2 separate regions of the Homo sapiens genome follow, and region 1 is linked to region 2. The links are contacts of gene promoters, found by promoter capture Hi-C in blood cells and fetal thymus (Javierre and others, 2016). All regions are on one chromosome and are shown on one strand. The core of a region is centred on a gene start or on the middle of the fragment in contact, and the rest is flanking DNA. Distances in the headings are between cores, read along the strand shown. Region 1 has its middle 54 kb from the start of LINC02606. Region 2 holds the start of H6PD (hexose-6-phosphate dehydrogenase/glucose 1-dehydrogenase).

What was found. Contacts are between HindIII fragments. The CHiCAGO score rates a contact against its expected background, and 5 or more counts as called.
Region 1: a contact is called between a fragment that was not itself captured here and the fragment with the promoter of H6PD in region 2, in 1 of 17 cell types (megakaryocytes). The highest score is 5.5, in megakaryocytes.

What each region holds. Positions count from the first base shown.
Region 1 is chr1:9,480,368-9,485,225 of GRCh38, reverse strand. No RefSeq gene overlaps it. Among named protein-coding and RNA genes, the nearest start is that of LINC02606, 54 kb to the right of the region's middle. RefSeq lists a silencer at 2,190-2,390. The HindIII fragment of the contact is 2,490 bases long and covers 1,513-4,002 here.
Region 2 is chr1:9,230,570-9,236,096 of GRCh38, reverse strand. It overlaps H6PD (hexose-6-phosphate dehydrogenase/glucose 1-dehydrogenase), which reads right to left and starts at 1,323. Exons shown (of 5, transcript NM_004285.4): 1 at 1,031-1,323. RefSeq lists a silencer at 911-1,470. The HindIII fragment of the contact is 5,189 bases long and covers 1-1,888 here.

The sequences.
Region 1 (4,858 bases), core at 1,508-4,007, 250 kb before region 2:
TTAGTTGCTGGGGCTTGGGCAGTAAAGAGAGGTGCATCAGAACCCTACAGGGTATCCAGAGAGGGCTCCCAGAGCCTGAGACACGGGAACTGAGTCTCAGAAAACAAGTGAGTGCTGGAAAGTGAGGGGCAAGGTGATCCCGAGAGCCCACAGGAGAGGCGCAAACTGAGAATTGCAGTTGTTAGATGGGGGTCCATGCAGAGGGGCAGGGGATCCCTGATTGGCAGAGCACTGGGAGCCTTCTGTTTGGGTTTGATCCCATGGGGCTGTGGCCACAAAATCAGGGGTTAGGGGTCAGCAAACTATAGCTTGCAGGCCAAATCCCTCCTGCTGCCTGTTTTTGTACAACTTGCAAGCAAAGGACGATTTTTACTTTTTTTTTGAGACAGGGTCTCACTCTGTTGCCAGGCTGGAGTGCAGTGGCGCGATCTTGATTCACTGCAACCTCTGCTTCTTGGGCTCCAGTGATCCTCCTGCCTCAGCCTCCTGAGTAGCTGGGACTATAGGCGCACACCACCATGCTGGGCTAAATTTTTGTATTTTTAGTAGAGATGGGGTTTTGCCATGTTGGCCAGGCTGGTCTTGAATTCTTGAGCTCAAGCAACCCTCTAGCCTCAGCCTCCCAAAGTGCTGGGATTACAGGTTAAGCCACTGCGCTCGGCCAAATTTATACTTTTCTTAATGGTTGGGAAAATAAATCAAAAGAAGAACAATAGTTCATGGCTGGGCGCAGTGGCTCCTGCCTGTAATCCCAGCACTTTGGGACGCCATGGCAGACAGATCACCTGAGGTCAGGAGTTTGATACCAGCCTGGCCAACATGGCAAAACCCCATCTCTACTAAAAATACAAAAATTAGCTGGGTGTGGTGGCACATGCCTGTAATCCCAGCTACTCGGGAGGCTGAGGCAGGAGAATCGCTTGAACCCAGGAGGCGGAGGTTGTAATGAGGCGAGATCACACCACTACAGCTTGGGCAACAGAGCAAGACTCCATCTCAAAAAAAAAAAAAAAAAAAAAAGAGGAGTAGTAGTTCATGACATCTGACAATGATATGAAAATCAAATTTCAGGCCAGGTTTGGTGGCTTACACCTGTAATCCCAGCATTTTGGAATGCCAAGGTGGGCAGATCACTTGAGGTCAGGAGTTCGAGACCAGCCTGGCCAACATGGTGAAAACTCGTCTCCACTAAAGATACAAAAATTAGCTGGACATGGTGGTGGGTGCTTGTAATTCCAGCTACGCAGGGGGCTGAGGCAGGAGAAAGAGAATTGTTTGAATCTGGGAGGCGGAGATCGCAGTGAGCTGAGATCATGCCACTGCTCTCTAGCCTGGATGACAGAGTGAGACTCTGTCTCAAAGAAAAGAAAAAAGAAAATCCAATTTCAGTGTCCATATATAAGGTTTGATTGGGACAAGGCTTCATCTGTTCAGAAGCTATAGGCAGTGTGTGCTCTCCAATGGCAGAGTGGAGGATTTGCACTGAGACTGGTGAACTGCAAAGCCTAAGCTTCTCACATCGAATCCTTTAGAGAAAAATTGTGGAGGCTTTGTGACATGGTATTTTAGACACCCAGTGGTATTTTAGACACCCAGTGGCAAACAGGACAGACAGAAATTGGGGCTCTTGTGGTTTCCATCCTGGAGGGGGATGCCTCTCTCCAGCATTGCCTCTTTCTGAGGGCAGAGACCACGTGGATGGGATCGGCTCCTGGTTCTAGGATTTCTCCTGTTCCTCTTCCCAGGAGTGGAGTCAGCTGTCACAGGGAGCCGGTGACCCTTAAGGCCAGGACCTGCCGGAGCCTCCCATGTCGCTGCTCGCTCTCCAGCCCTCTGGGAGAGGTGACGTGGGCCGTGTGGGGCCAGTGCAGGGCACCCTCTCTGGCATGGCGTTTATGACGTGGTTGTAACGGGCTCCAGGCCAGGAAAAAGATGTACCTGCTCCTACAAAAGCGAGCCCTTCTCATGAGTGCACTCTCTCTCCCTGGTGGAGTAGCAGTGGGAACATCTTTTACCCAGAGCTGAATGTTATTGTTTTGTTTTTCCTTCAGGGACGAACTGTTCACTCAAGGGCAGGCACCAAACCTTGTTTTCTGGGGAGGGGAGGCCACCTCCCATGGCTCCCCTGCAGGGACTCACATGGTCCTTGGAGCTCTCCCTTGAAGGCTGTGAACAAAGACAGAGCGGTCCAGCCCGGGAGTTCATAGCTCCCTTTGGAGCCCCTTGGCTCGGCCGGCCTCTGACTTCAGGGTTGCTTGGCTGAGCAGGGTGCTCCCAGTGTGCTCCTTGGTGTGAAGATATGCCTGTGTCACTTCCCGAGTGTCCCAGCAGCTGGCTCAGGCTTGGCCACCCTTGCTCAGCTGGAGAGCCCCTCCATCAGCAGAGGCAGCCTTGTCGGTGGCTAACAGCAGGGCCTGGAGCCTGAGTGCTGGGGTACAAATGTCGCTCTGCCACTTAGCAGCAGTGTGACCCGGGCAGGCTGCTTAACCTCTCTGTGCCCTTGTATCTATAAAATGTGGTAATACTAGTGCCTGCCTCGTAAAGCCTTTATGAGAATTAAGCGACTTAGCATCTGGAACATACTTAGAACAATGCCTGTGTGCAGGCCGAAGCAGACCTGTCTAGGACACTAACCCGCTGTGTTGACTTCTGATTATCACCAGTTCCAGGAACGCCTCTGAGATTTTTATTTTGTCTACTGCTCTTGCGTAAGAACATGTACTTTCGGTAAATCCTGCCTTTAGGTCAAAATAACCTTTTGAAAAAATATATTAAAAAAATATAAATAGAGACAGGGTCTCACTATATTGCCCAGGCTGGTCTTGAACTCCTAGTCTCAAATGATCTTCCCACCTCAGCCTCCCAAAGTGCTGGGATTACAGGTATGGGCCACCACACCCAGTCCCAGAACAACCTAGACCATAAGCCCTGCCCTTAGGCAGATTCACTTGGCATGCTTACCTTTCTCTACAATTGTCTTATATATTGCTTCCCTATTGGTGTATAAGCCCTGGGTCTGGGAGGGAATGGCGTAGGGATCCATCATCTTGCCTTGCAGCCGCCTGAAATGATGGCTTCTGTTCCTAAGTCCCTATTAAATTTCCCTTCCGAAGCTGGGTACGGTGGCTCATGCCTGTAATCCCAGCACTTTGGAAAGCCGAGGCAGGTAGATCATTTGAGGTCAGGAGTTTGGGACCAGCTTGGCCAACATGGTGAGACCCCATCTCTATTAAATATACAAAAATTAGCCAGGTGTGGTGGCAGGTGCCTGTAATCCCAGCTACTTGGAAGGCTGAGGCAAGAGAATCACTTGAACTCGGGAGGGGGAAGTTGCAGTGAGTTAAGATCGCGCCACTGCACTCCAGCATGGGTGACAGCGAGACTCTGTCTCGAAGACAGAGAAAAAAAGTTCCTTTCTGAGAAATGATATATCAGCCTCTTTGTTCCACCTCTCAGCTCCCTTGGACTTTGGGGGCAGGTTTGCACAGATTTGCACACTGCAAAACAATGGTGGCACAGAATGTTCCTACGCGTTTTTGTGACATAAATAAACAGAGGGAGGTCCTCAGAGGGACCCTGGCTCTCTCCTTCTCTCTGTTCCCAGAGCACTTTATGAATTTGCTCTTCTAGCACCTGGCCGTTTTGTTATAGGGTCCAGGGTGGGCACTGCCTGAAATATCTGTGCCCCGTCCATTACCTTGCAGAGCACCTGGCTCAGTGTAGGCTCTGGGTAAATGAATGAACGAATGAGACACCCCACCTTCCCCAAATTGGTAGAAAATGTTCCTGGAAAAATGAGTCCCTGTGAAGGAAACTTTGACCATAATTTCCAAAGGAATTTCAAAGCAGAGTCCATGTTTCCAGGGTTGACCAGCACGGCTGCTGGGTCTGGCTGGGAACTTGGAGGTTGGCCAAGTGAGCCCAAAGCGAGCGTGTGGCAGGGAGGGAAGAGCAGGTGCTTGTACGACAGGATGGTGAAGGAGGCTTCCAGAGGACGAAGCTTTGGGCCAGCCAGGACCTGCCCTGCTGAGCCCAGGAGAGAGGCCAGCACCTGCTGGCACTCAGCCAGTGGTGGTTTCCCCCAGGACAGTGTGGAAAGGGAGGCTTGTTCGTTCTTTTAGGCTAAGTCTTAGGAGAGACTAGGTTATTAGAATTTTAAGGGCTGGAGCTGAATGTGGTGGCTCACACCTGTAATCCTACCATTTTGGGAGGCCAAGGCGGGTGGATCACCTGAGGTCAGGAGTTCAAGAGCAGCCTGGCCAACATGGTGAAACTCCATCTCTACTAAAAATACAAAATTAGCCCGGTGTGGTGGCTGCTGCCTGTAATCCCAGCTACTTGGGAGGCTGAGGCAGGAGAATTACATGAAGCTGGGAGACAGAGGTTGCCGTGAGCCGAGATTGCACCACTGCACTACGGCCTAAGCGATAGAGAGAGATTCTGTCTCAAAAAAAAAAAAAAAAATACTGGGCATGGTGGCTCACGCCTGTAATCCCAGCACTTTGGGAGGCTGAGGCAGGTGGATCACTTGAAGTCGAGACCAGCCTGGCCAGCATCGTGAAACCCTGTCTCTACTAAAAATACAAAAATTAGCCGGGTCGGGGGTGCATGCCTGTAATCCCAGCTACTAGGGAGGCTGAGGCAAGAGAATCACTTGAACCTGGGACGCAGAGGTTTCAGTGAGCCAAGATGGCGCCACTGCACTCCAGCCTGGGTGACAGAGAGAGACTCCATCTCAAAAAAAAAAAAAAAAAAGAATTCTAGGAGCTGGGTGTGGAGTGGAGTTGGTCCAGGGAAGTTAAATATGATAGTTGGCTCCGAAGCCCAGCAGCTCCAAGGGGCATGGAGTGCTCTAGAG
Region 2 (5,527 bases), core at 74-2,573:
GAATCGCTTGAACCAGGAGGAGAAGGTTGCAGTGGGCCGAGATCGCGCCATTGCACTCCAGCTTGGGCAACAACTAACCATCAACCACAGAAAAATGCCAAGGAAAAACTCAGACAGCTTTTCATGATCTTCCAATCATAATGATGAAAAATTAAAGGGATATGATGCATAATTTAAAATACGCTGTCTGGGCGTGGTGCTTCACACCTGTAATCCCAACACTTCGTAAGGCTTAAGCAGGAGGATCGCTTGAGCCCAGGAGTTCGAGACCAGCCAGGGCAACATAGTGAGACCACTGTCTCTACAAAAGGTTTAAAAATTAGCCAGGCGTGGTGGTGTGCGCCTGTGGTCCCAGCTACCCCGGAGGCTGAGGCAGGACGATGGCCTGAGCCCAAGAGGTGGAGGCTGCAGGGAACCGTGTTTGTGCCACTGTACTCCAGCCTGGGCAACCAAGCAAGACCCCATCTTTTATAAGTAAAAGATTTTTTACTTTTATATAAAAAAGTAAAAAGATAAAATAAAAAATATGCCCATTTGACACCAGTTTTCCCTCATCTGCTGCCTTTCATGAGCCATGGGCCTGTTGTGGGTGCAGGGGGAGTGGGCAAGGACACTTCTTTCCAGAAGTTCTCACTTCTGGCTAAGCATTCAAGGTTGGGTGAGCTGATTTTCAGAGATCCAGAGAGGTTTGCCCCTGGAAAACCGTTCACTAGATCCGGGTACGGGAAACGCTATGTGAAACCCGAGGGCCAATCAATGCCAAAGATTAAGCAGGTCCCGGGGGAAATCTCGGAGTTCCCCCTCTCCTGGAACTCAGTTCCGGGAAGCCCAGGGAAAGGACAGCTCGGCCGCTCGGGGCGACCCTGGAGGGAGCCTGGCCGCCTCCTGAGCAGTTCCAAAGCCGCCAGCCCCAGGCTCCGTGGGGCTGGCAGCGCAGGCTCCGGGGCTCGGCGCGGCCTCGGGCCCGGCGGCAGCGCGGGTTGGAGGCGCCGGGGCCGGGGCGGCGGCGGGGCCGGCGGGGGGCGCTTACTTCCTCTCGCGCGGCGGCGCAGGCCGCTCCTCCGGGACACGGCCGGGGCGGCGCTGAGGGCCGGGCCCGCTCCCGAGGGCTCCCCTGCGCCCTGGGCCGCACCTCCTCTTCCGCAGGGCCCGTCACTCCGACAAGTGCGCGTGTCACGCGGCCACGCGCCGCACGACACTCCGATACCGCCCGCGGAGCCCGCGGCGGCCGCAGGGGAAGGCGCGAGGCCAAGGCCAGCCCGGCCGCCACCCCGCCCCAGGCCTCAGGCCTCAGGCCTCCACCGCCTTGCGCTCAGCAAGACTGGGGCCCGGGCCGGGGGCGCGCGCGGCGGGGGCGCGCGCGGCGGGGGCGGGGGCGGGGCGGGGGCGCCGGCGAGGCCACGCCCTCCGCTGGCGGCCGCCGGGGCGGGGCCTCGGAGCTTCCGGGGCGAGGCGGTGGGTCAGCTCCGAGCCTCCGCCCCCGCCCTTCCCTTCGGCCCCCTGGTGGCCGTGCGTCCTAGAGCTGTCCTGCCGCGTCCGAGACGCGCGCGGGACCCAGAAGTGGCCGAGGGACGTGGTTGTGTCGTGGAGGGGACCCGGGGTGCTGGCTGCTCCCTACGATCTGGCACCCGCTCTGGGACTCCTCAGGCCTCGCTTTTCCCCATCTGTAGAATGAGCGGCTCGGTCTTTCCCGTCTTCAATATCCAGAGTAGGGATTTAGAAGTCGGAGCGCACACGCTGGCCACGCCTCCGCGCACAGCTTCAGATCTCTGCCACCCCTTATCACTTGTGTGACCCTGAGTTCAGTTTCTTCATCTGTACAGTGGGGACAATGGGAGTACCTGCCTCCGGGGTTGTCTGGCACTTGGGTGCTTAGTAAGCGGAAGCTTGGACCCGTGTGGCAAATAGAAGACTTTTGCTAAGACATTGCTAAGAAAGACAGCAAATGGAATCAGGGCTTCTCTGTAGGGTGAGAGGTATTTAAGTGAGAAAACGGGATCAGCTGCCTCTCAGAGCACTCAGTCCCCTTCCTGTCCCCCACCATTATCAGGCAGTAGGTGGCCCTCACCATGCTCCCCAACCTGCTCCCCACTTTTTCTTTTTTCTTTCTTTTCTTTTCTTTTTTTCTTTTTTTTTTTTTTTTTTTTTTTTGAGACAGGGTCTCGCTCTGTCACCCATGCTGGAGTGCAGTGGCGCTATCACAGCTCACTGCAGCCTCCGCCTCCCAGGCTCAAGTGATCCTCCCGCCTCAGCCTCCCAAGTAACTGGGATCACAGATGTTCGCCACCACTCCTGACTAATTTTTCAACTTTTTGTAGAGACGGGGTCTCACTTTGTTGCCCAGGCTGGTCTCGAACTCCTGGGCCCAAGTGATTCTCCCACGTTGGCCTCCCAAAGTGCTGGGAGGAGATTCTGACCTGAGAGAGAAACTGTGCTGCAGCTTTTTATTTCCCGATGGTTCCATTAGAGGTGGGAGCGTCTGGAACTAGCAGTGGCAACTTGGCAGTGGCCGGCAGGACTGAATGGGGCCAACAGGCATGATTACCACACAGGATGTTAGGCAAGGGGTTCCGGGAAGGCTGGGAACTGAGGGGAGCTGGGCCTCACCGTCACCAAGGCCAGAGGCCATCCGGGCGCCCGCAGAGGGCTGCCAAGCCTCGGCAAGGATTTAGGTCACACTGAGTGGGCCTGGCAGAGGGGGGAGCCAGGGAGCCAGGCACTCTCTGGGCTACCTCCACAGCTGGAAGTGAGCAGGAGGGCTTAGGGCAGGAGCGGGCCAGAGCAGACTCGAATGATGCCGGGACTCTTGGCCTAGAGCCCTTCCCATGTTCTGTGGCCCTGAGTGTGTCAGGCACCCACATAGCTCTGAAAACCAGGGCCCAGGAAGGCACAGATAGAAGTGGGCAGGTGTCCAGAGGCATGACCGGGGGTTCGTTTCCCAGATCTCCATGTGGCCATCAGAGGGTGATCTGCTACCTTGAGGGCTTCTTATAAATAGCCCCAGGTCAGGCGTAGTGGCTCATGCCTGTAATCACAGCACTTTGGGAGGCCGAGGCAGGTGGATCCCCTGAGGTCAGTAGTTCGAGACCAGCCTGGCCAACATGATGAAATCCCATCTCTACTAATAATACAAAAAAAAAAAAAAAAGCCAAGCGTGGTGGCGTGCCTGTAGTCCTAGCTACTCAGATGGCTGAGGCACGAGAATCGCTTGAATCCAGGATGCAGAGGTTGCAGTGAGCCAAGATCGCGCCATTGCACTCCAGCCAGGGCAACAGGGTGAAACTGTGTCAAAAAAAAAAAAAAAAAAAGCCAGGCACGGTGGCTCACGCCTGTAATCCCAGCACTTTGAGAGGCCGAGGCGGGTGGATCACCTGAGGTCGGGAGTTCGAGACCAGCCTGACCAATATGGTGAAACCATGTCTCTACTAAAACTACAAAATTAGCTGGGTGTGGTGGCGCATGCCTGTAATCCCAGCTACTCGGGAGGCTGAGGCAGGAGAATAGCTTGAACCTGGGAGGTGGAGGTTGCGGGGAGCTGAGATCGCGCCACTGCATTCCAGCCTGGGCAACAAGAGTGAAACTCGGTCTCAAAAAAAAAAAAAAAGAAAAAAAAACAAAGCCCCAAACCAAGTCAGTTGTAACCTGCTTACTAAGAAAACGTCCACCTGATTAGGTAACGTTGGGGTGGGGTCTGAGGGGGGAATTAGCCTAGGGGGTCACAATGCCCTCCCAACCCTATGTCCACTCCCACACCACCCTGAGATGTTTCATTTCTCCGCCTGTCTTTCCTCACCTTACCTTCACCTCAGTCTCATCCTGCCTCTGTACCTTCCAGTTTTCTCTGGGCAATCAGTTGCTTTGCTTTCTTTCCATCATGAAGACGATTAGGTCGTGCTAAGACCCAGTCATCCTGGTGTGAGAGTACTGCCACCCAAAACACAAAAATCGAAAACTTTGTCCCTGTGGGCCCTGGCATTGGTTTCTGCACCTTTGCCTGTCTGAAGCTTTTCTTGTTTCCGTGCTGACCGCAGCTACAAGGGACCAGGTGTGCCCAGAACCCCGTGAAGGAAGCCGGGAGAATGAAGGAAGCCGGGAGAAAGGAATGATGCCCCATGGGTGGTCCAGGGGGTGTCCTGTGACCAGAATTCTGTCTGTGGTTTATCTCGTGCTTTATAAGGAGCGCCCTGGGGCTCTATTTATGAAGTGGATTTTTGGGGATTTTTCTTCCTAGCCCTTTAACTGTGGTGTAGGCAGAAGTCAGGGTGAATTCAGCCTGCTTTACAGACAAGGAAAGTGAGACCCAGAGAGATGAATGACTCACAGAGATGCCTGTGGAGTTAGAAATAAAATCCCATTGCAGTTTCTATTTTCAGGTGTCACTCCCTAAGGCAGCTCTGCTGGCTTCGTCTTGCTTCTCGCAGGAGGTGGGGAGGGAGGGAAACAGGTAGAGATTTTTCAGCCACGAGTAGATCTTTTCATCCTCAGACATAAGGAGCCTCTTTTTAAAAATTTTTATTTTATTTTTTGAGACGGAATCTCACTCTGTCACCCAGGCTGGAGTGCAGTGGCACGATCATAGCTCACTGCAGCTTCAACCTCCTGGCTCAAGTGATCCCCCCGCCTTAGCCTCCTGAGTACCTGAAACTACAGGTGTACGCCACTATGCCTGGCTAATTTTTTTCTTTCTTTCTTTCTTTTTTTGTAGAGCTAAGCCCTCACTATGTTGCCCAGACTGGCCTCTAACTCCTAGGCTCAAGGTATCCTCCCACCTCGGCCTCCCAAAGTGCAAGGATCACAGGCATGAGCCATTGTAACAGACCTTTTTTATTTTTTAAGATTAGCTTCCTAAAGTCCACATAAAGTAGTTATGTAATGGTTTCCATTGTTGCCATAACAATATACCACCATTTAGTGGCTTAAACAACCCAAATTTATTATCTTACAGTTCTGGAGGTCAGAACTTAGTTCTTACCAGGCTAAAATAATGGGTCAGCATAAATTCCTATCTGGAGGAGCCATTTCTGGTCAAGGCATAATTCAGTACCTTGTGGTTTTAGGACGGAAATCCCCGTTTCCTTGCTGGCTTCAGCTGAAGGGCATTCTCAGCTTCTAGAGGGTATCACACTCCTTGGCTTGTGGCCCCTTTCTTCCACCTTCAAAGCCAGCAATGGGAGATCCAGTGATTTCTCTCTCCCCTGTGCCCTTTTCAGGGTCATCTCGCTGACCCAGCTGGGGAAGGCTCTCTGCGTTTTTTTTTTTTGCTTTTTTTTTTTTTTTGAGACAGAGTCTCGCTCTGTCGCCCGGGCTAGAGTGCAGTGGCGTGATCTCGGCTCACTGCAACCTCCGCCTCCCGAGTTCATGCCATTCTTCTGCCTCAGCCTCCCGAGTAGCTGGGACTACAGGCGCCCGCCACCACGCCTGGCTAATTTTTTGTATTTTTAGTAGAGATGGGGTTTCACCGTGTTAGCCAGGCTGGTCTCGATTTCCTGACCTCGTGATCCACCCACATTGGCCTCCCAAAGTGCTG